Linked DNA regions of Homo sapiens: regions 2, 3 and 4 are each linked to region 1. Evidence: promoter capture Hi-C in 16 types of primary human blood cells and fetal thymus (Javierre and others, 2016). All regions are on one chromosome and are shown on one strand. The core of a region is centred on a gene start or on the middle of the fragment in contact, and the rest is flanking DNA. Distances in the headings are between cores, read along the strand shown.

What was found. The method cuts DNA at HindIII sites, captures the fragments that hold promoters and counts their contacts. A CHiCAGO score of 5 or more calls a contact.
Region 2: a fragment that was not itself captured here is called in contact with the fragment with the promoter of GIMAP6 in region 1 in 1 of 17 cell types (M2 macrophages); the score reaches 5.4 in M2 macrophages.
Region 3: a fragment that was not itself captured here is called in contact with the fragment with the promoter of GIMAP6 in region 1 in 6 of 17 cell types (non-activated CD4 T cells, total CD8 T cells, activated CD4 T cells and 3 more); the score reaches 7.0 in non-activated CD4 T cells.
Region 4: a contact is called between a fragment that was not itself captured here and the fragment with the promoter of GIMAP6 in region 1, in 2 of 17 cell types (naive CD8 T cells and non-activated CD4 T cells). The highest score is 5.7, in naive CD8 T cells.

Annotation. Positions count from the first base shown.
Region 1 is chr7:150,628,815-150,636,267 of GRCh38, reverse strand. It overlaps GIMAP6 (GTPase, IMAP family member 6), which reads left to right and starts at 3,883. Exons shown (of 3, transcript NM_024711.6): 1 at 3,883-4,099; 2 at 6,126-6,210. The coding sequence starts at 6,126. RefSeq lists enhancers at 3,933-4,022, 4,033-4,122, 4,393-4,472 and silencers at 6,521-6,721, 6,741-6,941. The HindIII fragment of the contact is 8,992 bases long and covers 1-4,018 here.
Region 2 is chr7:150,875,949-150,883,401 of GRCh38, reverse strand. It overlaps LOC105375567 (a long non-coding RNA gene), which reads left to right and starts at 6,272. Exons shown (of 5, transcript XR_928171.3): 1 at 6,272-6,393. The HindIII fragment of the contact is 2,523 bases long and covers 4,498-7,020 here.
Region 3 is chr7:150,425,408-150,432,860 of GRCh38, reverse strand. No RefSeq gene overlaps it. Among named protein-coding and RNA genes, the nearest start is that of LINC00996, 4.5 kb to the left of the region's middle. RefSeq lists an enhancer at 3,866-4,035. The HindIII fragment of the contact is 4,508 bases long and covers 1,111-5,618 here.
Region 4 is chr7:150,770,004-150,777,456 of GRCh38, reverse strand. All of the region lies in intron 2 of LOC105375566 (a long non-coding RNA gene), which reads left to right. Among named protein-coding and RNA genes, the nearest start is that of TMEM176B, 27 kb to the left of the region's middle. The HindIII fragment of the contact is 1,816 bases long and covers 3,087-4,902 here.

The DNA of each region.
Region 1 (7,453 bases), core at 2,634-5,133:
TGTGAAAATGGCCATACTGCCTAAAGTAATTTGTAGATTCAATGCTATTTCCATTAAGCTACCATTGACTTTCTTCACCGACCTAGAAAAAACTACTTTAAATTTCATGTGGAACCAAAAAAAGAGCCTGCATAGCCAAGAGAATCCTAAGCAAAAAGAACAAAGTTCTGTAGACTTGTAGTACAGCATCACGCTACCTGACTTCAAAGTATACTACAAGTCTACAGTAACTAAAACAGCATGGTACTGATACCAACACAGATATATAGACCAATGGAACAGAACAGAAGCCTCAGAAATAACACCACACATCTACAACCATCTGATCTTCAACAAACCTGACCAAAACAAGCAATGGGGAAAGGATTCCCTATTTAATAAATGGTAGTGGGAAAACTGGCTAGCCATATGCAGAAAACTGAAACTGGACTCCTTCCTTACACCTTATACAAAAATTAACTCAAGATGTATTAAAGACTTAAACCTAAAACCTAAAATCATAAAAACCCTAGAAGAAAACCTAGGCATTATCATTCAGGACATAGGCATGAAAAAAGACTTCATGACTAAAACACCAAAAGCAATGGCAACAAAAGACAAAATTGACAAATGGGATCTGATTAAACTAAAGAGCTTCTGCACAGCAAAAGAAACTATGATCAGAGTGAACAGGCAACCTACAGAATGGGAAAAAATTTTTGCAATCTATCCATCTGACAAAGGGCTAATATCCAGAATCTACAAAGAACTTAAACAAATTTACAAGAAAAAACAAACAACCCCATCAAAAAGTGAGTGAAGGATATGAACAGACACTTCTCAAAACAAGACATTTATGCAGCCAAAAAACATATGAAAACAAGGTCATCATCACTGATCATTAGAGAAATGCAAATGAAAACCACAATGAGATACCATCTTACGCCAGTTAGAATGGTGATCATTAAAAGGTCAGGAAACAACAGATGCTGGAGAGGATGTAGAGAAATAGGAACGCTTTTACACTGTTGGTGGGAGTGTAAATTAGTTCAACCATTGTGGAAGACAGTGTGGCGATTCCTCAAGGATCTAGAGCTAGAAATACCATTTGACCCAGCAATCCCATTACTGGGTATATACCCAAAGGATTATAAATCATTCTACTATAAAGACACATGCACACCTATGTTTATTGTGGCACTGTTCACAATAGAAAAGACTTGGAATGAACCCAAATGCCCATCAATGATAGACGGGATAAAGAAAATGTGGTGCATATACACCATGGAATACTATGCAGCCATAAAAAAGAATGAGCTCATGTCCTTTGCCGGGACATGGATGACGCTGGAAACCATCATTCTCAGCAAATTAACAAAAGAACAGAAAACCAAACACTGCCTGTTCTCACTCAGGTGGGAATCAAACAATGAGAACACATGGAACAGGGAGGGGAACATCACACACCGGGGCCTGTTGTGGAATGGGGGACTGGGGGAGGGATAGCATTAGGAGAAATACCTAATGTAGAGGATGGGTTGATGGGTGCAGCAAACCACAATGGCACGTGTATACCTATGTAACAAATCTGCACGTTCTGCACATGTACCCCAGAACTTAAAGTATAATAATAATAAAAAAAGAAACAAGATCATAACAGAGATTGTGAATTACATTCTTTGTAAATATGCTGTGTTAGCATAGAGAAGTCCTCCCTCAACAAAACAATGGACTACATTATTTGGCTTGCAGGAAGTGAGGGATAACACCATGTGGGCAAAATTTTTTTAAATAACCAAATAAATACATAAGTAAATAAATAAATAAACTGAAACAGGAGTAGAGCCATAAACTCAAAGGGAAGATTGGTTGCCCCAAGAGCAAATGAAGCTCTCAGCCATACTCTCTGGAGCCTAAATTTGGAATCAGTTGTAAAGTGAGTTGTAGATTGAGGAATTTCTGGATTAAGCCAGAAATCTGAAAATGGGGTTGAAGTGGTCTCAGTTTAGTAGTACCAGCACCCCCTTGTCAGTTCCTGATAAAAATGTACACAAATCTTCTCTGGAGTAAAGCCACCTTGATTTCAATCCCAAGGATTTCCATACTTAAGTTCACAATCAAAGACTGTGAATGTAATTCCAGAAAAGAAATCACCAAAAGTGAGAGTCAGCAAAAAATAAAAAACAAACCAAAAGAACCAACATCAGATTTATATGCTGTATCAATTAGATTAGGCCAGATTACCTTGCAGTAACAAACACTTCCCAATTCTCATGGCTAAACGCTGAGCTGATTGATCCCTGGCTCAGTCAACTGCAGGTCTGGGCAACTCTCCAGAGTCAGCTTGCAGAAGATGGAAATGATTAAAATTCAAAATAGATGGTTAATTTCAATTATGGGTGGAGTAATAACATTCTAAATACTTTCTAAACACTTAGGCAATGGAATGGTAAAGATCAACACATGACTTTTAAGAATTAATTAAGTGGCTGGGCGTGGTGGCTCACACCTGTAATCCCAGAACTTTGGGAGGCCGAGGTGGGCAGATCATGAGGTCAGGTGATCGAGACCATCCTGGCTAACACAGTGAAACCCCATCTCTACTAAAAATACAAAAAATTAGCTGGGCGTGGTGGTGGGCACCTGGAGTCCCAGCTACTCAGGAGGCTGAGGCAGGAGAATGGCGTGAACCCAGGAGGTGGAACTTGCAGTGAGCCAAGACCGCACCACTGCACTCCAACCTGGGCGACAGAGCGAGACTCCGTCTCGAGAAAAAAAAAAAAAAAAGAATTAATCATGTTACACCAGGCGCGGTGGCTCACGCCCATAATCCCAACACTCTGGGAGGCCGAGGTGGGCAGATAACTTGAGGTCAGGAGTTTGAGACCAACCTGGCCAACATGGTAAAACCCCGTCTGTATTAAAAATACAAAATATTAGCCGGGTGTGCGGACGCCTGTAATTCCAGCTATTTGGGAGGCTGAGGCATGAGAATCGCTTGAACCTGGGAGGATGAGGTTGCAGTGAACTGAGATCACACCACTGCACTCCAGCCTGGGTGACAGGATGACATTCTGTCTCAAAAAAAAAAAATTAATTGTGTCAGGGTATTTACAGAATAATTTAAGTAGAACATTAAAAGATATATATATGTACACACACACATACTATGTAACAATTTTAATAAATACACCATGATTATCAACCAGAACAGAACCAAAGAAAATTAGAACTATTATAGTAGATTGAGTGGAATTTTTTTAGGGAATCTTAACATTTTAAAATCATGTGGTAACAATATCATCACCTATGCTCCTATGTTCTGAATTTCTTCCTTCAATGGCTTCCCTTTAGCCACAGTTATCAGATCTGTCAGTAAAGTCCTAGAAAACATGTTTTTGAGGATGCTGAGGTGTTTTCTCCCTTGGCCTGTGTTTAAAATATTGTTCTTCCCCCATAACAAGTGCTCTCTTTAATCCTACATTTTAGACATTCTTTTGTATTTTCCCTTTTCTTATAGTGCAGATCTTCTAGAAGCTGTAACAATTGTAATTACCAATGATTCATGCCTTAGAGGTAATGAGTGTCAGACCTTGTCCTGAGAGAAACTATTAAAGGAAGGAGAGGTTGGGGAAGAAAGGAGACAATGACTGTTTGCCCCAATACTGAGGCATAGAAGTTCCCTGGGGAAGAGGTGGGGTTCAGAAAAGAGAGATCAGGGAAAGTCACTCCTCCTGACACAAATCTTTCTGAGGCATCTGCCTCTTTTTAAGCTCTGAGTTCTAGTTATCCTGGCTCAGGATAAAAATAATCCCACCACTGGTATCCTCCCTTTTTCTACTTCCGAGGCTGCAAAGTGCAACAGCAGACTCTTCTGACTCAGGAAGGCCGGTGCTCCTACCCACTTCCTGTTCCTCCATCTCCAGCGGACACTGCTCTTTCAAGGGCAGGTCTCCAGCCCAGCTCTCTGAAAACATTTTGCTGAAAATATAAGCAAACATCGGCCTTGTCCTCCTTGTGTTCATACACTGTGGAAGCTTTTCTCTGCCTCCTCCGTGAGAGTGCGTGGCCGGGAGACCAGAAACGTGGTCCTTTCTCTTGCCTGTGAGCTGGTGCAGAGGTAAGTCTGAGTATTTGTGCGTGTCATATTTGGATGTGTATGTGTGGGTGTTTGTGTTGTACATGTGTGTTTACATGTTTGTATGTGTTAACATGAATGTGTGTGAGTGATGTTTGTGTGTGTGATGTTTGTGTTGTGTGTGTATGTGAGTGTTGTGTGTGTGTTGTGTATGTATATTTGTGTTTGTGTATGTGTTTGTGTGTTCACCTGCATGTGTGTGAGTGGTACATGTGTTTTGTGTATGTGTGTGTGTTGTGTATTTGTGTGTGCTGTGGTGTGTGCAGGTTTGTAATGTGATAAAAAGAGCTGTGACCAACACGTCTGGAGAACTTTTTGCCTTGTGACAAAGTCACTGTTTAATATTTGGCAAGATGCTTCTCTGAGTTTTGCTTTCTTCCAGAGCAATATGACAAGGATGGTACTATCTGTTCCATCTTCTGTGTTGGAGACAATGCACACTGTGGCCAACATGGGAGGTGCCATTCCGGGGAGGGTCTAGGAGGAGGCAGGGAGGTGCCTTGCGTGCAGACCCATTCCCCGAACCCTGCGAAGGCACAGTGCAGGTTCCTGCATGCCACAGCCTAGTCCCACCCGGCTGTTGTTTCCTGTTAAGCTGCCTGCCCGTTCTCTCTAAAGGAGGAATGAGATTACATTGGTAAAGTGCTGCCTCAATTTCCACCAGGGATGTAAGGAAGCCAGGGACAAAGAGATTGAGAGGCCACCAGTTAGGAAGAACTAACTCCCTTTGGTAGGTGAAATATTGTACTCCTTCCAGAATCTGGCTGTTCAGGTCTGAGTAAGGCTGTCCGCCTGGCCTGCTTCTTCTTTCTTCCTAGAAAGTCAACAGACCTTCCTGGACTCCCTCCATGCCCAGCCCAGCACTGCAAAATTGATCTTTACCAATCATAAAGCAATATCCGCATATATACTTCTGGGATCTGGGGAGGACTGGAGTGTTTGCCAGGTGAACAGAATAGAACAAACATCTAACAATGTGGCAATGAGAAAAACATGTCTATCAGGTTCCCCTGGACTTAGGTTTCCCCACACCCCAGACCCTTCATCTGGATCTGTTTCATCTGGTTGTGAATGTCCTACATGATCTGGAAAAACAGTCATGGACCATGCAACTTCCTCCTCAGTCCCACAGAGAAAATCCAGCAGAGAGAACCTTATGGGATCTTGGCACAGAGAACTGTGTTAGTCTATGAAGCCAGGACACATTGCTGTCATGGGAAAGGGGACAGGAGTTCCTGGTTGGGAATGATGTGGCCCTAATTTGCAAAAAGGACTAAGAATTGCTCTAAAAAATGTTATGAAGTATGTTGAGACCTTAATAGGGGAAGAGACATTCACAGGCATCTAGTTCAGGCCCAACATTCTTACTGATGGGATGCTGAGGCCCAGACAGAGCTAACTGGTGGCTGCTTCTCCCCTGAGGTCTCTGGCTTCCTTCCCAGCTCAGCCCCTGCAATCCCAGTCCTCTGTAACCCTCACTGCACAGTCTTCTCCAAAGTCTGGCCCCAAGGCCCACCAAGTGGCCCCTCCCAACAACATCCTACTCATTCACGTCCTCCAGGCACACCAGGCCTTCCTGCTGCTCCCAGGGAACACAGGATCAGAATCACACCTGCTTCTGTGCTTCCCTTCCTCCACCTCCTCCTTCTTCCCTTCCTCCACCTCCCCCCACCTCCCAGAACAGTTCCAGACCCTTTGTCTATCCAAATTTCATCCATTCCTCAGCTCCCAGGCCAGTTGCACCTTTATCTGTAAAATCTCTTAAACTTATGATGGAGACCACAATGAAGGGGGCGAGGGATAGCATCCCTAAAGAAATAGGGTCCCTAAAGCCAGCAGAGAGTGTCTTAGACCCCTTCTTCCATTGCCTCACTCAGTCCCACCCCAACCCTAAACTAATGCAAAAAACTTTCCTCTGGCAAGAGAAAGGCGAAAGGCAGGTGGCTGTTGAAACTCATTTGGAAAGTCAGTAGAACATATGATTTTTTTTTTTTTTTTTTTTTTGTAGATGGAGGAAGAAGAATATGAACAAATTCCCCAGGAGAATCCCCCAGAAGAGCTGTCCCAGGATCCTGTGCTGGAGCTGTCAGGAGGTAAAATGAATGAGGAGAGGGGAGCAAGTGGGAAACATTTGGGGTGCAGGTGGGACACAGCTCCACCACCATAGTGTGCTTGGAGAGGAAGCTGACGTCCCCCAGTCACAGAAATTTACCCGCCTCAGCCACCATCAGAGGCCTTTGGGGTAGGGCCCTTCTTATCACTAGCCAAAAATAAGAAAAAAGACCCCTGGATAGGTATGGTAGATAAAAGGAGGCGAGAAATAGCACCAATGACTAAATCACCATGCCAGTCCCAAAGGAAATGCTTTCACATGGTAGATGTTCTTCCTCAGGATGGATGTGCTGACAGTGCGTGTGACGAAAATAAGTGGCCTTGGACTGAGGCTTGGATGCCAACAGACCCTGTATGGGTGTTTGGCTGACTCCGAAGTGGAGCTGTCACAGTTGTAAGTTTGAAAGCGCCTTGTGCACAAGCAGAATGTACTTGGCTGCTGCCTCAGATCTGGGCTCTGCCTTATCGAGGGCGTCCCTTTCCCAAAAGCCATTGCACAGGGTCAGGCGCTTAACTTTCATGGGCTCAACTTCGTCATTCATCCTGGGGAGGCAGGATTTACAAATGCTGGAAACCCAGCCCTTTCCTGGCCAGAAGAAATGATTTGTGATTCATTATGTATTTTAATATGAATGACCTTTTACTTTATGAACTTAAATGGCCTGAGCCATCTGGAAAAAGCCACGTTAACCTACTACAATAGGGACATTACCAATACCTGTGTAACACCTGTTTGACCTTTTGTTATAGCAATCAAGGTTAGCTATTCTTTTAAGAATCCTCTCCAGAGCTCAAGTGATGCATTTGGCTTTAGTAAAGTCCAGTGGTGTGTGCTAGCTCCAGGCTGCTCAGATGGGGGTTCCTGTCTCCTCTGGCTCTGCACTGGGCTAGGTGGGTGGGGATGAAGATCTACTGCCCAGACTTCTGCCCATTCATTCAAATTCCTTCCAGCCACCTTGGGGAAGCTGGAGGGGGCCCAATGTCACTCAGTTAGAATTGGCACGTGGGTCAGAGCCAAGGGTGGCTGTCAGGCCACAGCAAGGCCTGTTGGTGCCCAGGAGATTCAGGAGATGGCCACGCCCATGCTGCCACATGCCAGCTTCATGCTTTGTCATCTGAGATACATCAATGTCTTCAGTGGGGACAAGACTGGGAAACCAGCTATTACTTGTCACTTCTTTATGTGCTCTGGGTCTTGGGACCCGCAAGGCCAGGAGAAGGGAA
Region 2 (7,453 bases), core at 4,510-7,009, 250 kb before region 1:
CTGTTATAAAAGGGATTGAGTTCTTGATTTGATTTTCAGCTTGGTTGTTGCTGCTGTATAGCAGTGCTACTGATTTGTGTACATTGATTTTGTAATTTGAGACTTCACTGAATTTGTTTATCAGATCTAGGAGGTTTTTGGATGAGTCTTTAGGGTTTTCTAGGTACATGATCATATCATTGGTGAACAGCGACAATTTGACTTCCTATTTTCCAATTTGGATCCCCTTTATTTTTTCTCTTGTCTGATTGCTCTGGCGAGGACTTTTAGTACTATGTTAAATAGAAGTGGTGAAAGTGGGCATACTTGTCTTATTCCATTTATCGGGGGAATGCTTTCAACTTTTCCCCATTCAGTATGGTGTTGACTGTGGGTTTGTCATATACGGCTTTTATTACTTTGAGGTAAGTCCCTTTTATGCCTATTTTGTTAATGGTTTTTATCATAAAGCAATGCCGGATTTTATAAAATTATTTTCTGCATCTATTGAGATGATCAGATGATTTTTGTTTTTAATTCTGTTTATGTGAGAGATCACATTTATTGACTTGAGTATGCTAAACATTCCCTGCATCCTTGGGATGAAACCCATTTGATCATGGTGGATTATCTTTTTGATATGCTGTTGGATTTGGTTAGCTAGTATTTTTGTTGAGGATTTTTGCCTCTATGTTCATCAGGGATATTGGTCTGTAGTTTTCTTTTTTTGTTATGTCCTTTCCTGGTTTTGGTATTCGGGTGATACTGGCTTCATAGAATGATTTAGGGAGGATTCCCTCTTTCTGTATCTTTTGAAAAGTTTCTGTAGGATTGGTACTGATTCTTCTTTGAATGTCTGATAGAATTCAGCTGTGAATCCATCTAGTCCTGAACTTTTGTTGTTGTTGGAAATTTTTTTTATTACTGTTGAAATCTCACTACTTGTTATTGGTCCGATCAGGGTTTATATTTCTTCCTGATTTATTCTAGGAGAGTTGTATGTTCCCAGGAATTTATCTATTTCCTCTAGATTCTCTAGTTTGTGTGTGTAAAGCTATTCATAGTAGCCTTGAATGATTTTTGTATTTCTGTGGTATTGGTTGTAATATCTCCAGTTTCATTTCTAATTGAGCTTATTTGGATAGTCTCTCTTCTTTTCTTGGTTAATCTCATTTATCTGTATTTTTTTTTTTAGTTATTTTCTTAGTGGTTGCTCTAGGCCTTACCATACACATTTTAACTTATCAGAATCTGCTTCAGATTATACTAACTTAATTCCAACGAGTTATAGAAATGCTGCTTTTGTATAGCTCTATATTCTGTTCTCCTTTTGTGTCATTATTGTTATACATATTATATCTATATATGTTGCAAACCCAAAATAACATAGTTATAACTATTACTTTATGGAATTCTGTACCTTTTAAAGAAGCTGAGAGAAGAAAGGAAAGCAAGTATGTATTTATAGATTTTGTTATATTAACCTTCTTATTTATCATTTTTGGCTCTTTTTATTGTACCTGTGGATTCAAGTTACCATCAGCTGATATTTCCTTATTCCAGTGCAGCTTTGCTCCCACCTACTGGTTTTGTGCTATTATTGTAAAATAAATACATTTCTATATGTGTAGACCCAACAATACAATTTTAAACACATACACACACACACACACACACACACACACACAGAGCCCACAATTGCTTTTAAAATTAGTTAAGTAAAGAAAGAAGAAGAAATATGCATTTACACTATTGTTTTTATAATTACAAAATTATCTACATTGGTGCTCTTTAAATTTTGTTTGTGGGTTTAAGTTACTGTCTAGGCCATTTGCTTTCAGCCTAAAGAATTTATTTTGCTATTTTTTGTGAGGTGGCATGCCAGCAAGGAATTCTCTTAGTTTTTGTTTATCTAAGAATGGTTTTATTTTACTTTCATTTTTAAAAAAACAATATTGCTGGATATAAGATTCTTGCTTGACAGTTTTTTTTCTTTCAGCACTTTAAATATGTTATCTCAGTGCCTCTGGCCTCCATTATTTCTGATGAAAAGTCAATTGTTAATCTCATTGGGGTTCCCTTGTATGTGACTAGTATTTTTCTCTCGGTGATTTCAATATTTTCTTTATGTCTTTGGCTTTCAACATTTTTAAGATGATGTGTCTGGGTTAAATCTGTTTTTGTTTCTCCTAATTGAAGCTTGTTGAGCTTCTTGAACATGTGGATTAATGTTTTCCATCATATTTGGGAAGTTTTCAGGCATTATTTCTTAGATTTTTTTTTCTGTTTTCTTCTCTCTCTTCCTCCTTCAGTTACTCCCATTTTGCATATTTGGTACACTTAATAATGTCACACATTTCTCTGAGGCTCTGTTCATTTTTCTTTCTGCTTTTTTTCTCTCTGCTTTTCAAATTGCATAATCTTTATTGATCTGTATTCAAGTTTGCTGATTTTTTCTTCTTCCAGTTCAAATCCACTACTCAGCTCCTCTAGCAAATTCTTCATTTTAGTTATTATATTTCTCAACTCCAGAATTTCCATTTGGTTCTTTTAAAAAATACTTTCTGTTTTTATATTAATATTCTCTATTTGAGTGGACATTGTCATAACCTTATTCACTTCTTTAAGCATAGTTTCCTTTAGTACTTTGACCATATTTATAACAGCTGCTTTGATGTCTCTGTTAATTCCCCCATCTGGGCCCTCTCACAGAGTTTTTGTTGCCGGGTTTTTTTATTCTGTGGGTTATACTTTTCTGTTTCTTTGCATGTCTCATAATGCTTTGTTGTTAAAAGCTGATCATTTTAGATAACATATTTTAGATAATATATTGGAGCAACTCTGGATACTGATGCTGCCCTCCCCTCCACGTACTCCTTACTCCTGGCCAAGGCTTCTTGTTGTTTTTGGCTTATTTGTTTAGTGACTTTGCTTGACTATTTTGTGAAGTGTATTTCCCCATAATGTGAAGCCTCTGATTTCACTCCTCAGAGGGCACAGCCTTAGGTACATGTACAGTCAGTCATCTGGGGTGACAGAAGTTTTAACCGGCCTCTCTTTAATTTTCTCATTTCCTGATCTCTTTGCTAAGCCATCAGTCTCTGTTGGCATCACACCCAGCTGTCAGGGTACACTAATTACTGGCTGATTTTCTATTGTTTTTCTACAATGCCTGGAGTATGCAATGCTTCACAGTATGATCCAGATAAATTTGGGTCCCTTTGTAGGATTGTTTTGAGTCCAGTCTTTGGGGTTTGTTCAGACAGTGGAAGGACTCTTCTTAGCTATTTGTTTTGTTTTCTCTGGTAAACTGGCTGGCATATAGTTTATCCCATTATCTTTATTGTTTACCACCAAAATCTCCATTGTTTTTGCGAGTTCCCTTATGCTTGAACTTCTCTACATCCTGTTTTAAATCAAGTTAGTTTCTTGGGGGGTCGGGGGAGAGCTTCAGTGCTCTCTGTTCTTATGATCTACCTCTTCCTTTGGGCAAAATCTTTGAGTCACTGCTCAAGACCTGGGGGTAGGGGCTGTGGCTGGCTTCTCTCAGAGCCCTCCTGCTTTACAGAGCAGGGCTCTGCGTGGTGGCAGTAGCCTCTTGTCTTCTCAGGTTGCTGTTGTAGCATGGAACCTCTGATCCAAACGCAATTGGGGCTTCAGTAATTTCAGCCTGCATCACCTGGGGTAGTCTCCACCTATGAGTGGGGACTGGGTGGAGGAGAGAAGCTTCCATTCTCTCAGCTGCACTCATCTACAATTTAGCCTGTGCAAAATGGGGGCTGAGGAATTCTGGTGGCCTGCCTCTTCTGGGGAGCCATTGTATTGCTTGACTGGGAGCTGGATGGAGAGGGAGCTGTGTTTTCCTGGCTAAGTCCATGAAGAGTGGAGCTTCTGTTAAGTGAGTTGGGGGGATGGAGGAGAGAGGAAGTGAGTCATGGCTCAAGTGTCATAGATTCTCATTGTTCTTATTGGGAACAATTTCCAGAGACTTTAAATGCTTAAAAATCATTTAACTAGATATAAGTGTTTTGCTGGGGAGCAGGTCTGCAGAGCTCCTCATACAATCATTCTGGAAGTGGTCTCTGCTTTTTTCTCTTCCTTCTTTTTTCTTTCTTCCCTTTCTTTTTCTTTCTGTGTGTAGTTTCTGTTTTGTTTTGTTAACCTATGGATCAACAGCAGAAGATGTCAGATGTAAGAAATGATGGTAGGACGTGGGATGCTATTAGTAGGTATATCAGCTAATGTTGAAGACACTACTCTTAAATCAAGGAAAATATGATCAGAATAATAAATTTTTAAAGTATAGTGAACAAATTCTTCAGTAAGGCTGAAGGTTAAAAGTAAAAAGTTTCAAAGCAATACTTTTCTTGGCTCTTCTTTATAATAATTTATTGTCTAGTGAGCTACTAACCCTTTTTCTTTATGACTTGATTGCCCCCGTATGCTAAAATACTTGCTGTTTTACTTTTCCTTTCATTGACATTTACAATCCTTTGTCTTTTAGTAGTTTCACAAGCTTTGAAACAATGTTTAGATAATTTTAAAAAATAAAAATAAAACAATGCTAAGGGTACAATCATTGATGTTTTAAATATATCAGCTGCTATAAGGCACTTTGTCCAATTTTCATAATAATTTTGTCTTAATGGTGTTAAGAGCAAAGATTTAAGATTTACTTTCTTAGTGCCATAAAAATAAGAGCTATTCAGCTGGGTTTCTGAAATATTAAGTGCAATGCAAAAGTTTGTTTGCCTAATATCCCTGGACACCAGGCTTCCCAAAATATCCTGCCCCAGACCATAGCCACATCTTCCCACTAGATTCCTGGGCAACTAGAAACAATGGTAAAGGAAAACAAGGTCACACAATTTTTTTTGAGATGGAGTCTTGCTCTGTCACCCAGGCTGGACTGCAGTGGCGCGATGTCGGCTCACTGCAAGCTCAGCCTCCCTGATTCACACCATTCTCCTGCCTCAGCCTCATGAGTTGCTGGGACTACAGGCGCCCGCCACCACGCCCAGCTAATTTTCTTTTCTATTTTTCGTGGAGATGGGGTTTCACCATGTTAGCCAGGATGGTCTTGATCTCCGACCTCGTGATCCACCCGCCTCGGCCTCCCAAAGTGCTGGGATAACAGGCGTGAGACACTGTGCTCGGCTAAGGTCACACTAATTGTTAGCTGGGAGTGGACCCCAAACCTGTTGAAAGAACCCATCAGCTTTCCTTTAAGAAGGTAATGCCACAGACCACAACAGATAATTGAGGGTTATTCTGTGAGCTTCCACTAAAGCTAAAACATGTGTGGAAGGGACAGAAGAGAGGATAACAGGTTTGCTGGCCTGTTTACCACTTGGGGACGTTTGGATGGATGATGAAGAAGAAAAAGAATCAAAAGGACTGGGGCTCATCACAGGTGGGAATAGTATAATATTAGCTCTTCATTCAGAACCATGGTAGCAAAAAGAGAGAAAACTGCATCTGTGGACTGAATTATTCCCCTCAGCCCTCTACCCCAGTGTGTCTTCTTTTTGGGAATAGAGTAGAAAGCCAGGAAAATGGTGGGGATCTAGGAGGAAGCAGGCATCTCCTCTGACTTGCACGTCCCCCTGTTTCACTGTCCTTTGTTAACTCACTGTGTTTGACAGCCACATCTGTGGTCAGCCAGGGGTGCAGCTGCTCCTACTGGTAGCTAATGGCCATAGAACACCAGGGGCGTCTTAAAGCCCCTTCTGTGATCCGCACCACTGCTCCTGGGTATACTCCCAGGGTCTGTTATATGGGTAACATGCACCTCGCAGCAAGATCTCCTGAAATGGGTTAGGACAGGAATATTAGGTAATTGCAAACCCATACTTCCCACCATTCTTGTCTTCAATTATGGCCAATTACATAGTTACGGCAGCCTTGTATTGTTACAATACAATCTTCCTCTATGCTTAGGAACCTCTATGGAGATGGTTGTGTTACTTCAACCAAAGACAAGAAGAGACTAATCTGCAGAATTAGAACAATTCCCTAGTTCTTCAACAAATCAGTGCTGCTTTTCTTGCCAATAATAGACGTGTTTGTATTTCTCCGTGGAAACCCTTGGGGTAAACATGTTGCTTGTTCTTCCAATAAAGAATTGAACCACCAGAGGGCCTCAGGCGACTCAGGAGGTTTGGGAAGAGACAAAGGCACATGCTTAGAGGGTCTGGAGAAGGCGAGGAAGAAGGAAGGGAGCCAAGTAAAACATGTGACTGACCAGGGGCTTTGGAGAAGACAAGCCCTGCAGGAAGGCACGCATGTGGTCATTCTGTCTGTAGCCTCCCATTCCTCCCTGCTTTCCCCAGCTGCATCTACCTGGATCCTGAATTTGAACCAAGTGGTCCAAACGGCCCGGTCACCTGAGCAACCCCTCTGCAGGAACCGCAGGTGTGGGCGGGGTGGTGGGGAGGAGGCGGGGGGGTGGGGGAAAGGCGGGGGGTGGGGGGAGCTCAGCGGCGCCATCTAGCGTCCAGACAGCGGTGGCTCTGGGAAAGCTGATTGTTTTCTTAGCCAGAGGAGGAAGAGAAGGTTGGTCCTCAGCGCCTGGACGCCTGGTAGACGATAGGGGATGACATGATGAGTAAAATAAGGACAGGAACACGCCGAATCCCCTTTCATAATGATAGGACCACGCCAAATCCCCTTTCTTTTTAAAATTTGACATATACCCTTGAATATATATGTATTCTTATAAAATATGGTTATCTGGTATGTATTTATGTATATTGATATAAAGCTGCAGATTTAAAAATAGTACTTCTTTCATCTCTCTCCATCTACATAGTCTTCGTGGTTTTCAGTAAAATGATAATTTCTGGATTACTTAGATGTAGTTATTATGATCCAACCCTTGAATAAGGGGAGTTGAGAGTTGGTGAAACATCCCTGTCTCAATATTTGTTCATGCCATATTTCCTTTGAAAGAATTTACAGATAAAGGCATCAAATACCTGAAAAAGTAACAAGTTTACTATATTTTACTTGAGAATTTGTATATATATTTTTAAGAAAGCTTTTTAGTTTTGGCGTAATTATAAACTCACAAGAGGTAGCAAAAAGAGTACGGAGTTCTGTGAACCTTCAACTGGATTTCTCTAATGGTGACATCTTGCAATGGACTGAGTATGTCTCCCTCAAATTCATGTGTTGAAATCTTAATCTCCATAGTGGTAGCATTAGGAGATGGGGCCTTTGGAAGGTGATTAGGTCACAAGGGCAGTGCCCTCACAAATGAGATTAATGCCCTTATAAAAAAAAAAAAAGACCGCAGAAAACTCTCTTGTCCCTTCCACCATGTGAGGACGCAGTGGGAAGATGGCCAGTCCATGCACCAGGAAGCAGGCCCTCCCCAGACACTGAAGCTGCCAGGGCCTTGATCTTGGACTTCCAGCCTCCAGAACTGTGAGAAATTAACTTATGTTGTTTATAGGCCACCTAGCTACGTGTT
Region 3 (7,453 bases), core at 2,115-4,614, 200 kb after region 1:
CGGGATCCACTCTCAAATAAACTACTTGCCCTTGAATCCTTAATTCAGGGGGAGTCAAAACAAAGACGACCAATCAGAGACAAATATTAACCATAATGATGTCTATTACTCAGATAGGATTGAAATCAACTCAGAAGGGCAGGAATGTGTGAAATCTTCTCCCTTTCCCTTCTCTGCTGAGTAATTGACTCTCATGCCCTAGAGCCTTCTCTACCCCTCTGTAAGCACGTGGATTCAAAACTGAATGTCCAAGTTCAAACCCAACTCCCCACAACCCAACGTTCCCAAGTCATCTAGGGAAATTTGCTTCACCTCTTCAAGTCTCCATTTCTCCAATGTTAAGACAGGAGAGTCTCAGACAGTTCACAGCGACCAACCCACCCCTACTCGGCCACCACCCACATAACATCTTACTGGGAGATTTCTCCCATTGAGTTCAAGTTCATAGCTGGAGAATATGGAAACTGCACACTCACCATGGAAGATAACACCAAGAAGTCTTTGTCTTTCCTGTCTTCTGCTTTCATCATCTGCCCCCTCCCACCAGACTGTGTTTCTCCATGACACCCTGTAGTTTGGCCACAGCCAAGCGGATCTGAAGACCATTGCCTCCAGAAGTTGGCATGACGATTCTAAGTTCTCCAGGTGGGAGAAGGAGGGGGATTTACTTATGTTTTTAAATGTTCTAGGACTTGTGTGTCCTGTTGAACTCCAAGATCTGTGGAAAAGGGAGTCACAAGAAAGACAAAATTCTCATAGTCCAGCTTCACAGGCACAGAAGGGCCTCAGCACCACCATGGAGCAGGCCCAGACACAGGGCTGAAGTGGGAGCTGGAGTCTCCCCAGCACCTAAGCAAAGCCTCTCTTCCCCACAGCTCAAGGTTCCAACAGCCCCTCCTTCTCACTCCTTTTCCCCCTTCAAGTCTTCCAAGTATGCACTCCAGACTGGTGTTGGTATTGAGTGTGGGCCGATGAAGGGAGAGTGGGGTGACAGAGTTGGTCTGTCCCTTTTCAATAACTGCCAAGAGGACTGTTGATGTTCTCTCTAGAATGTGAGGTACTTGACTGTCCTCGACTTTGAATAGAATATTCAAAGTGGGAATACAAGCTTTCCCACTCAAAAGCTAATTACACCTAGGAAAGAAAATCAACGGTATTTTTTATAAGCAGTATACAAAATAGTTGCCTAATTTTCTTCTTTTCCTTATAGCCCTGTGAAACTGTTTTGGAATGCACGTCATTTAAAAAAATATTCATAACCCAGCACAGTGGCTCATGCCTGTAATTCCAACTCTTTGAGAGGCCAAGGCAGGAAAATCACTTAACTCCAGAGTTCCAGACCAGCCTGGGCATAATAGCAAGACTCCATCTCTACAAAAAATAAAAACTTAGCTCGGTGTAGTGGTGCATGCCTGTAGTCCCAGCTACTCGGGAGGCTGAGGTGGGAGGATCACTTGAGCCCAGGAGGTTGAGGTTGCAGTGAGCTGTGTTTGCACCACTGCACTCCAGTCTGGGTAACAGAGTGAGACCCCCATCTCAAAAAAAAAAAAATGTATCTCAAGACTTGTTCACTTCAAGAAAAGTTTAGAGTAGCCCAATCCCCTGAGGAAATTGGAACCAAGGGACGATGAAACAAGGGTCGTATCTCCTTTTTGGCTTCTCTGCTGATGTGGTTCTTATCTGAGAATCATATAAACTGTTCCCAGTGGGCAGAGCAATGGCACAGCCAGGAGTGTCTGGGGAAACTGAAGCATCCTGAGCCCCCTCCCAAGTCATCTGTGTCTGGGTTCTCTGCTTATGCCCCACAAATAGCTCGTCCAAGTAGGACATTCGAACAAGCACCCCGGACACAGAATGTAATCCGCACCACAGCCCAGCATATGGCCTGGCTTTTTCTCTTCATCTTCATCCTTGTATGTCTAAAGAGAAATGTTTGTGTGGGAGGAGATGACATTTGAGTTCGTTAATTCAAAACACTGGTGGTAAGATGACTTATTCCAGGAACTTCAGTTCTGGATTTCATCAAATAAACTCAGGGACTCAACAGAAGAAAGTGACCGTCTTGTGAGTCCACTGAGCTCTGTCTCCAGAACAGAACCCCAAGGAGTCGGACACAGGAGCAGCAAAGTGCAGGCTGCCCACTGCATCTGCACCAAGGGGAAGGCACGGTCTCTGCAGGCAGCTGCCTCGTACCCCAGCAGCTGCACGTTGCTGCCAGCGCCTGGGGACCGCTGCCTCAGATGGAGAAGCTGGAACTCAGATCCTAGACTATTCCCCTGGGGGAATGCGATGATGGTTTCCAAACTTCACAGGTGCAGGCACGGTTCAAACCTCTGCTTTGCCCTTCCTAACTGCCTGAACTTGAGCAAGTGACCTCCACCCCCAAGTACTTCAGGTTCCTGATCTATAGAAGGAAGATCGTAACGATAATGGTCTTGTGGAGTAGGATGAGGATTAAATAATCTCTCTCCAGTGGGGACTGTTTATTATCTCACACCCCATGTACCCCAGGGACAGAAAATGGGGTTAGGGGGCAGGGCGTGGTGGTGCACACCTGTGGTCCCAGCTGCTCTGGAGGCTGAAGCAGGAGGATCGCTTGAGCCCAGGAGGTCGAGGCTGCAGTGAGCCATGATTGCACCACTGCACTCCAGCCTGGGTGACCAAGGGAGACCCTGTCTCCAAAAAAATAATGCGGTTAGAGTTAGCATCTCCCTTGCTCCTTGGCTTTCAGGCCATACCTCTTCTCCCTTTTGAGAACTAGTCGGCCTCTTCGAGTGTTAGCTGCTGGTCTCTTCCCTTCGTGCTTTGGGGTATGGGCGTCCAGCTCAGTCCCCCCGCCGTCCCCAGGCTTTGTCCCAGGACATGCCGGGTGTATTTGTTCTCCATTGCTGCATAATAAACCACCACAAAAAGTGGCTTGAACAACACAGACTTACTCTCTTAGCGTTCTGGAAGTCCAGAGTCTGAAATGAACCTACAGGGCTAAAATCAAGGTGTCCACAGGGCAGGTTCCTTCTGGAGGCTCCAAGGGAGAATCTCACTGTTCCATGTCTCCTTCAGCATGAGACAGAGAGAGAAAGAGGGAGAGGTGGGGGGTTGGTGAGGTAGAAGGTGCCACACACTTTTAAATGACCAGATCTCATGTGAACTCAGAGCAAGAGCTCACTCATCACCAGGAGGATGGCCCAAGCCATTCATGAGAGATCTGCCCCCATGGCCCAAACACCTCCCACCAGGCACTTCTAACACTGCAGATTACATTTCATTCAACATGAGATTTGGGCAGGGACAAATATCCAAACTATATCAGCTATTAAAGTCCCCAAACCTTCCCTTTAGCTTCCAGTTGCTTTCCTTTGGCTTCTGGGGCAGCCTGCAGAGGGCAAGTGCCTTCGCTCTGAGAGCAGCTGAGTAAGGACACTGCCTTCTCTGACTATATTGAGTACCAGCCCCCCATTCACCAGGCATCCGACTCTCTGCCTCCAAACAATTGCTTTATGCAGGTCCAGGGGCTGGGCCTGGCTATTCTATGCCATCCTTGGGAGTCCTTCCCATCGTCAAGGATTTTCTGAAAGGTCAAGCCTGGCTGCACTGGAGAAGGGAATGTGGAAGCCACAGCCCCTCGTAGCCGGCAGCCTGGGCAGCAACTGGAGGAGGTGGAGCATTTTCCTCTCCCTGTGGGGCTGAGGAATGTGCAGAAAATGGGTCTGCGGGTTCTTTCCAGGTTGCTCAGGAAGGGGTCTAGGGATGTATCTGAGGGGACAAGGGTTTGGGTAGGGACCCAGGCCAGGACTCCAAAGCCCCAGTGCCTTGGCCCTGAGAGCTTGCCTGCCAGTGATTTCTACCTTGGCTGGAATGCACTTTGCCATTTCCTCTGTAGACACTTCCTTGGGCAGATGCGGCCATCTGGTCTACTCCACAGGAGGTGGGAGTGACAGCAGCAAATAAAGAAGACAGGAAGAAGGCGGCCAAGGGCTGCGTGAGTGAACACAAACAGCAGGAGGGCACTTTGCCCAGTGTGGCTTCTGAATCATGCCTCTGAAAGTCCCTGTGTGTGCACACAGCTGTGGGCAGTGCTTACGTTTCTGTGCATGTGTCTGTGGAGAGTGTGGTTGGGGGTCGGAGGGGGTACCTGTGAATTCCTTAGAGAATCCTAGAGGGTGGGACTCTACGGGACCTGCAAGCAAGTCCAGTGGGTTCCAAATGTTTTCTGCAGGTTCTAGTGGGGGCCCCCGGACACCTAAGGGGTGGGCCCAGCAGACAAGGTTGCTGGGGAGAGGGAGACCCATCCCATGCTGTAGCTGGAACACTCCTGGGGTGATCCATGGGTCTTCCTAGTGATATTTTGAAAAAATAAGATTTTACTTTCATTAAAAAAAAAACAAATCTTTGGAAGTAGTGACTTCCCATCTAACCTCCTCATTCTTCAGTGAAGAAACTGTAGCCCCCAGAAAGGAAGTGACTTCCCCAAGGTCGTGAAGGAACCAGCTGGGGGAGAGTCTCAGGCCTCCTGACTCCAAAGTGGGTGCCATCCACAGTTTATCTTGCATCTCTCGGCCTGCAGGGCTGTGGAGGTACAGGCGGCTGGAGGGTGCACTCTGCCCAGCCTCACCCCGGTGAGGACCAAGTGTCCCGGTTCTGAGGAACACAAGGCAAGGCCTCCCTCTTCTAAAGTCTCTTCTTGTTTCCTGACCTGCCGCACTAGTCAGGCCTCTGGTGAAAGGCGTTTGAGGCCCTCAGCACCCTCACGTGACGTGGGAGCCCCAATACGCATGGAGCTGTTGGCACCACTTTGCCACTGCTTGGCCTGGAGAAGTTCTCATTAGCCCTACAGGGACATGGGACAGCGGGATACGTAAGTTGTGGTGGATGGAGGATGGAAAATTGGCCCCATAAGCATCAAGAGCGTGCAGCTGCAGCGTCAGGGCACCTGATAGGCAGCCAGGTGGTGAGAGCTGGGAGCCCTGCTGGGCACTGACGTAGCCCATGCTGCAGGGCTGAGAGCCCTTCCTGCCTCAGGTGTGGCCTCCCACTAAGAGGATTTACCCAGTGAAGGGCAGAGTGGGCCCACACACCTGGCAGCAAGGGCAGAGAGACACCGTGGTTGGGAAAGGCAGAGGGTGCAGCCCCCAGGGAACAAATCAGCAACATGAGGAGTCACCGAAAATGCCGAGTACTTTAGGCAGACACTGCAAAGTCAGGGGTCGGTGTGAGCCATACACACACACACACACACACACACACACACACACACACACACACACACACATTACCACCATAATGGCTCCTCCCCCCACCACCACCACGTTCTCCCTGACGGGGCAGGAGGAGGCCCCAGCGCACAACTATTTCAGAGACACCCGTGCCTGTGCTCAAGCCCCTGCTGCTTTAGAATGAGACACAGGGGACAATGACTGCATAATTCCCCCCCACGCCCCCCCCACACACACACGGAGCCCTTGAAATTGAGGAGAAGGGTCTGTCCTTGGGGAGACAATCAAGTGGCATTCAATGTGGCAAAGGGAATGTTCTATTGATAAAACTACCTTCCCCTCCCAGCAAGTGAAGGGGCCGAGCCGTCACCAGGGGTAGATCCAGGATTTATGGAGCTTGAAGCTTATAGAACTTGGGGGGCCTCTTTTTCAAAAAATACAAAAATGAAAGTACTAAATTAATGACCTTTTATCTATTGATTTCTTTTTAACCAGTAAGGCTTCACGTCTCAAATTTTCCAAATTGAGTCCTCCTATTTTAGTCACTTTGTTAATAATAATAATCTCTACACCTATTGAATTTCAAGTGCTACCAGCAGTGCTGATTTTCCTTTCTCTTTTATAAGATTGGGATTCACCAAACATATCATAATATGCAGAATACATGAAGAATAACCCCATATCAAAAAGCCCTACACATTTAAACACACAAAGTCATTTCACACATAAGGTATTCAAGGTTATACAAAACAGATGACATTGGCACCTTTCACAACCTCTGTGCCTCCGGGTACGACTGGCAATGATTGTGCTCTTGGCAAGATACTATAAACTATTTTTCTGGAAAACATTAAGCAGGTTTATTTTTCCCAAAAAGAGGTTCCCTGCCTTCCCATTGAATGGATGTGGCCAAAATTAATCACTTACCTTCAATTCATGTTGCTACGAGGCCAGGCGAGGTGGCTCATGCCTGTAATCCCAGCACTTGGGGAGGCCGAGGTGGGCGGACCACCTAGGTCAGGAGTTCAAGACCAGGCCGGCCAACATGGTGAAATGCTGTCTCTACTAAAAATACAAAAAAAAAAAAAAATAGCTGGGCATGATGGCGAGCACCTGTAGTCCCAGCTACTCAAGAGGCTGAGGCAGGAGAATCGCTTGAACCTGGGAGGTGAAGCCTGCAGTGAGTTGAGATCATGCCACTGCACTCCAGCCTGGGTGACAGAGCCAGACTCCATCTCAAAAACATATATATATATATATATATATATATATTGCTACCAGATGGGAAAGGCTCTCCATGTTCTTTAGCCTCATCTCTGCATCTATATGTTGGAGAATGTGAAAAAAATATTGGCTCATTGCATTTGAGAGAAATACTGCTTGATTTTCTATTTCATCCATTTTCAAATACCTCAAACTTAAATGCTATACAACTAACAACTGAAGAGCCTTTACTCAATACAAAAAAACAAATGTTTTGAGGGGAGACCAAGGCAGGCCGATCACTTGAGTCCAGGAGTGCCAGACCAGCCTGGGCAACATGTTGAAACCCCGTCTCTACAATAAAAAAGAAAGAGAGAGAGAGGGGGAGGGAGGGAGGGAGGGAGGGAGGAAGGAAGGCAAGAAGGAAGGAAGGAAGGAAAGAAGGAAGGAAGGAAGGAATTAGCTGGTCGTGGTGGCACACGCCTGTCATCTCAGCTACTCAGGAGGCTGAGGTGGGAGGATCACTTGAGCCCGGGTGTTGGAGGTCGCAGTGAGCCAAGATTGCATCACTGCAGTCCAGCCTGGGCAACAAGGACAAACCCCATCTCAAACACACACACAGACACACACAAGTTAATGTGTATGACTTTGTCAAATTCAAGGAATTTTAACCCTCTGGTTTCACCCATCCACAGCACTGACCATGTAGCCTACCACAGTGGCAGGAAACAAATCACAAAACTAATTGTATTCCAGCTGGAGAATGAGGAGTGTAATGAAGGGTATACATCTAAAATAACTGAAAGAAGGATATCGAGAGGCATTTGTACACTCATATCCACAACATCATTATTCACAATAGCCAAAACATAGAGGCAACCCAAATGTCCATTGACAGATGAATGGATAAACAGAATATGGTATATATACGCAATGGAATATTGTGCAGGCCTTAAAGGGAAGGAAATCCAGTCTCAACGTGCTACAACATGGATAAACCTTGAGGACATCATGCTAAGTGAAATAAGCCAGTCACA
Region 4 (7,453 bases), core at 2,745-5,244, 140 kb before region 1:
CTAAACTAAACTCCCCCCAAAAACCCTTTACTTAGAAAATGATGAAAAAGAGAAAGTGGCATAAAATATTAGTGAAAAGTTAACAATTCAAGAGGGCCATCTGAGATTGGACATCCACTGGCAGGCATCTCTGAGTGAGAACAGAAGAAAGAGGAAATATGAAGGCATGGGAAGGGAGCTGCACAGAGTTAAGGAAGACTTTGGTTTGCAGAGCGAAAAGGATTGCCTAATGGAAGCACAATAAGTAGGAAAAAAATACTCACTTAGACTCATATATATGAAGTTCCAGAGCCCCAAGGATAAGAAGACTCCAAAACGCAAACAACAACAGCAGCAATAATAACAACAGCAGCTAGGTCACTTACCAAGGTGTAAGAATCAGATTGGCATCGGACCTAACAGAAGCTGGATAACAAACAGAGCAATGTCCTTAGGATTTTGAGAGAAGATAATTTTGGACTTGAATTTTAAAATTCACTCACTCCAGGTATTACTGCATGAAGGGGTAGAAAAAAATTAAAAATTTAAAAATCGTAAAGAAAACCCCAAATAACTTAGAAATTGGACACATTTACTTAAATTATGCATAAATAAGTTCCCAAATTACATTGCTCTAGTGTGCACCAAGATTATCAATAAATAAATGATTAATCTTTCTTGAATGACTTTAGTAAACATTGGTTATTGTTGCAGCTTTGCATCTGTTCTGCTCCTTCCTGGAACAGGTCCCTGATTTTTCTTTGAAAACATTATTCCTCCCTCCTCCGTCCTTGGGTTTTAAGTGACTCTAACTTAATCCTCCTTGCACCACAGGGACTTGGTATGCTCTATCCCTCGGGCTACAGTGATGGGTTCAGATATGGGTTTGTAATCCAAGGCTGTCCCATAAGACTCAGTCCTGGGATTTTTTTTTGTAAATTAAAAAAGTTTTTATCGATACATAAAATATGTATTTATGGAGTATATGTAATATTAAATGTATAGAATGTGTAATGTCAAATCAGGCTATTAAGGGTATCCATTACTTGGAGTATTTATCATTTCCATGTGTTGAAAACATTTCAAGTCCTCTTTCCTAGCTATTTTGAAACATACAATACATTATTGTTAACTATAGTCACCTTGCTCTGCTATCGAACATTAGAACTTATTCTTCTATCTAACCGTATATTCGTACCCACTGACCAACCTTTCTTCACCTTCCTGCCCTCCACATCCTTCTCAGCCTCTGGTATCCATCATTCTACCCTCTACTTCCATGTGATCAAATTTTTTGAACTCCCACATATAAGTGAGAACATATGGGCCAGGTGCGGTGGCTCACGCCTATAAACTCAGCAGTTTCGGAGGCGAGGTGGGTAGATCACTAGAGGCTAGGAGTTCGGGACCAGCCTGGCCAACATGGTGAAACCCCATCTCTACTAAAAATACAAAACTAAGCTAGGCATGGTGGCGCGCACCTGTAAACCCACCTACTTAGGTGGCTGAGGCAAAAGAATCACTTGAATCTGGGAGGCGGAGGTTGCAGTGAACCAAGATCATGCCACTACACTCCAGCCTGGGTGACAGAGTGAGATTCTTTCTCAAAAAAAAGAACATGTGATGTTTGTCTTTTTGTGCCTGGCTTGTCTCATTTAAGGTGAATATATATATATATAATATATGTATATGTATATATGTGTATATATAAAATCTTATGGTATATATATGTTATACATACACATGTGTGTATGTATAACATACATATATATACACACACACATATATAAAACATTTTCTTTATCTACTCATCAGTTAATGGGCCCTTAGGTTTGTTTAATATCTTTGCAGTTATGAATTGTGCTGCAATAAACATATATGTGAAAGTGTCTTTTTGATATAATGACTCCTTTTCCTTTGGGTAGATACCCAGTAGTGGGATTGCTAGATTGAATGGTAGATCTACTTTTAGTTCTTTCAGAAATTTCCACATTGTTTTCCATAGAGATTATACGAATTTCCCTTTTTACCACATCCATGCCAACATCTATTGTTTCTTTTCCCCCAACTTTTATTTTAGGATTAGGGGTATGTGTGCAGGTTTGTTGTACAGGTAAATTGTGTGTCATGGGGATTTGGTGTACCGATTATTTTATCACCTATGCAATTAGCATAGTACTCAATAGGTAGTTCTTTGATCCTCACCCTCTTCCCACCCTTCTCCCTCAAGTAGGCCCCAGAGTCTCTTGTTCCCTTCTTTGTGTTCATGTGTGCTCAGTGTTTAGCTCCCACTTGTAAGTGAGAACATGTGGTATTTGGTTTTCTGTTCCCGTGTTAGTTTGCTTAGGATAATGGGCTGAAGCTCCATCCATGTTGCCACAAGGCATGATCTCATTTTTATGACTGCATAGTATTCCATATACAGGTATATATGTAGCAATTTTCTTTATTCAGTCTACCATTGATGGCCATCTAGGTAGATCCCAGGTCTTTGCTATCACAGATATTGCTGCGATGAACGTATGCATGTGTGCGTCTTTATGGTAGGATGATTTATATTCCTTTGGGTATATACTCAGTAATGGGATTGCTGGTTCAAATTGTAGTTCTAAGTTCTTTGAGAAATCACCAAACTGCTTTCCACAGTGGCTGAGCTAATTTACATTTCCATCAGCAGTGTATAAGCATTCCCTTTTCTTAACAACCTCAAGCATCTGTTACTTTTTGATTTTTTTTTTTTTTTTTTTTTTTTGGTGAGATGGAGTCTCCCACTGTCACCCGGAGTGGAGTGCAGTGGCGCGATCTTGGCTCACTGCAACCTTCGCCTCCCAGGTTCAAACGATTCTCCTGCCTCAGCCTCCCAAGTAGCTGGGATTATAGGCATCTGCCACCATGCCCAGCTGATTTTTTGTATTTTTAGTAGAGATGGGGTTTCACTATGTTGGCCAGGCTGGTCTCAAACTCCTGACCTCATGATCTACCCCCCTCGGCCTCCCAAACTTTTTGACTTTTAATGATAGCCATTCTGACTGGTGTGAGATGGTATCTCATTGTGGGTTTGATTTGCATTTCTCTAATGATTAGTAATGTTCATTTTTTCATAAGCTTGTTGGCCATGTATATGACTTCTTTTGAGAAGTGTCTGTTCATGTCCTTTGCCCATTTTTAAAAGGGTTTTTGCTTGTTAATTTGTTTAAGTTCCTTATAGGTTCTGGTTATTAGACCTTTGTTGGACACATAGTTTGCAAATATTTTCTCTCATTCTGTAGGTTGTTTGTTTACTGTGTTGGTAGTTTCTTTTGCTGTGCAGAGGCTCTTTAGTTTAATTAGGTCCCATTTGTCAATTTTTGTTTTTGTTGCAATTGCTTTTGTTATCTTTGTCATGAAATCTTTGGCAGGGCCTATGTCTAGAATGGTATTCCCTAGGTTTTCTTTTAGGATTTTGTAGTTTTGGTTTTACATTTAAGTCTTCAATCCACCTTGAGTTGATTTTTGTATATGGTGAAATGAAGAGGTCCGGTTTCAATCTTCTGCATATGGGTAGCCAGTTATCCCAGCACCATTTATTGACTAGGATGTCTTTTCCCCATTACTTGTTTCTGTTGACTTTGTTGAAGATCAGATGGTTGTAGGTGTGTGGCTTTATTTCTGGGCTCTCTATTCTGTTCCATTGGTCTATATGTCTGTTTCTGTACCACACCGTGCTGTTTTTTGTTACTGTAGCTCTCTAGGAAAGTTTGAAGTCAGGTAATGTAATGCCTCCAGCTTTGTTCTTTTTGCTTAGGATTGCTTTGACTATTTGGGCTCTTTCTTGGATCCATATGAATTTTAGAATTGTTTCTTCTAATTCTTTAAAAAGGTAATTTGTAGTGTGATAGGAATAGCATTGAATCTGTAAATTGATTTGGGCAGTATGGCCATTTTAACAATATTGATTCTTCCTATCTATGAGCATGAAATGTTTTTTCATCTGTTTGTGTCATCTCTAAATTCTTTGAGCATTGTTTTGTAATTCTCATTGTAGAGATCTTTCGCCTCACTGGGGTTGAGAATTACAAAACTCTCCTTGGTTAGGGAGGTGAAAGATATTTTACTGAAAGAGATTTGAAAATGCCTAGGTATTTTATTTTTTTCTGTGTGCGTGGCTATTACGAATGGGCTTGCATTCTTGATTTGACTCTCAGCTTGGACGTTGTTTGTGTATAGAAATGCTACTAATTTTTGTACATTGAGTTTTTATCCTGAAACTTTCTTAAAGTTGTTTGTCTTGAATCTGTAAGAGCTTTTGGGCAGAGACTATGAGGTTTTCTACATATAAAATCATATTGTCTGAAAACAGAGATAGTTTGACTTCCTCTCTTCCTATTTGAATGCTTTTTATTTCTTTCTCTTGCCTGATTGCTCTGGCTAGTACTTCCAGTACCATATTGAATAGGAGTGGTGAGAGTGGTCATCCTTGTCTTATTCCAGTTTTCAGTGGGAGAGAGAGGGAGAATTCAGAGGGAGAGAGAGACAGAGTGGGAGAGAGAGAATCATATTTAAAGTGTACGATTTAATAAGTTTTGACACATATCCATTGGCCCCCCCCAAAATATCCTCATGACCCTTGTCAGTCCTTCCTCCTGACACTTCTCACCCCCATCCCCGGGCAGCCACTGACTTGCTTTTTGTCACTATAGAATAGTGAGCATTTTCTAGAGTAAGTGGAATCACACCATATATACTATATGTACTCCTTTTGTTTGACTTTTTCCACTGAGCATAATAATTTTGAGGTTCACCCATGTTGTGTGAATCAGTAGCTCATATCTTTTTATTGAGAAGTCATATTCCATTGTATAGATATGCTACAGTTAGTTTATCCATTCACCTGTTGATAGATATTTTGTTTATTCCCAACTTTTGCCTATTGCAGATAAAGCTTTATGAATGATCAGGTATAAGACATTTATGAACACATGATTTCTTTTCTCTTAGGAATATACCTAGGAGTGGAATGCCTGAGTCATATTATGGGTGTGTAAGATTACTTTTTAAGAAACTGGCCAATTGTTTTCTAAAGTCATTGCACCACTTTTTTTTTTTTTTTGAGATGCAGTTTTGCTCTTGTTGCCCAGGCTGGAGTGTACTGGTGTGATCTCAGCTCACTGCAACCTCCGCCTCCTGGGTTCAAGCAATTCTCCTGCCTCAGTCTCCTGAGAAACTGGGATTATAGGCGCCTGCCACCACACCTGGCTAATTTTTTTTTTTTGTATTTTTAGTGGAGACAGCATTTCGCCATGTTGGCCAGGCTGGTCTTGAACTCCTGGCCTCAGGTGATCTGCCTGTCTTGGCCTCCCAAAGTGCTGGGATTACAGGCGTGAGCCACTGAGCCCGGCCAATTGCACCATTTTATATACCACCAGTCCCTCCACATCTTCACCAACACTCAGTGTGTTCAGTGTATTTAATTTTAGCCATTCTAATAATCCTTTTTAGTGCTGCATAATATTTCCATGATATGAGTATACCAATATGAGTATCCCTACTGATGCACTTTTACCTCTCTTCCTATGTTTTTGCCTCTAGAAACAATTCTGCAAAACCAGACTATACTAACTGGAGCTTTTATTGCCATGAGACGGAGTCTTTGGAATAGGGTTGATGCATTAAAGTGTATAAATATTTTAAAATAAAATAAATCCTATTGAGAGCTTTCTTAAAAGGCTGTAATAATTTACATTTACCAGCAATGCATTAAAGCATCTTTTGCGTTTCTTCCCAACCTCACCACTATTTTTTTTTTTTTTTTTTTTTTTGAGATGGAGTTTTGCTCTTGTTGCCCAGGCTGGAGTGCAATGGCGCGATCTTGGCTCACTGCAACCTCCGCCTCCCGGATTCAAGCGATTCTCCTGCCTCAGCCTCCGGAGTAGCTGGGATTACAGGCATGTGCCACCACACCCGGCCTTTTGTATTTTTAGTCGAGATGGGGTTTCTCCATGTTGGTCAGGCTGATCTCGACCTCCAGACCTCAGCTCACCCCTAATTTTTGTCAATAGTATATAACTTTTTACAATGCTTTCAAGTTGTTTTGATTTTCATTTCCTTCATTATGAAGTGAATTTTTTTCACATGTGTATTGGCCATTGATTGTTCATCTGTGAACAGTCTAAGGATGTTGCACATTTTTATTTTTGTGAGTTTTTTTGGTAACATAGATTTTAAAATTTCATCTTAATTTTTTTTTTTTTCATTAGAGATGAGGTCTCACTCTGTTACCCAAGCTGGATTTCAGTGGTGCAATCAGATCTCACTGCAGCCTACAACTCCTGGGCTCAAGAGAAAAATTTATTTTTTTATCTTTAAATTTGTTTATGGCATCTTTGCCATATTAAACACTTTAAAGCCATCTTTTCTTTTATAACTTCTGGCTTCATGTCTTGGTTAAGAAAGTACATTCAACTCTTGGCTTGTACATATAATCTCCTGTATTTTGTCTTAAGATTTTCATGTTATTTTTTTACAGACACAAATTCAATCCTTCTTGGATTTTATTTTATTTTTTATTTTTTTAGATGGAGTCTTGCTCTGTTGCCAGGCTGGAGTGCAGTGGTGCGATCTCGGCTCACTACAACCTCCGTCTCCCGGGATAAAGCGATTCTCCTGTCTCAGCCTCCCAAGTAGCTGGGACTACAGGCGGGCACCACCACGGTCAGCTAATTTTTGTGTTTTTAGTATAGATGGGGTTTCACCATGTTGGTCAGGATGGTCTCGATCTCTTGACTTCGTGATCCACCTGTCTCAGCCTCCCAAAGTGTTGGGATTACAGTGTGAGTCACTGTGCCCGGCCTCTTGGATTTTTATGTAGTGTGAGGTAGCAGCCCAGCTTTACTTTCTTCTAATTGGAAAGCTGTTTTTTCCTCACCACTTAACTAAATAACCAATTTTCCTCTGCTTTTTCATACATTTATTCCCATTATTAACTAGGATTCATTATGTACTATGTATATTGTCCTACTGATTTATTTGTGTGTTTTATGCCGATGCCAGACTAACTTATGTTCAGGCATTTTTTTTCCGCACAAGGGAGCCTGAAGAAAGCATATCTAATTCCACACACAAAAACAACAGATTTCAATTGGAATTTAATTATGTATATATCCATTTTGGAAGAATGTATATCTTCATAGTGGTAAGTATTTTCATACCAGAACATGGTCTGTTTTTCTGTTTGTTCAGGTCTTGTTTCATGTTTTTCAATATGGTTGAGCTATATTTATAGTTAAGTATATCATGAATATATATATATAAGAGTATATGTACAGCATAAAGCTCAATAAAGCCATACCCAGTTTAAGGAGTAGAGCATTGCCCTTCGAAGCTTCCCATCCCACCTCCATGAGTTCCTCTCCCTGTCGCTAGGGTATTATTACTATCCTCTCTTTTGTGTTAATCATTCACTTTCTTTCTTTTTCTTTTTTTTGAGATAGGGTGT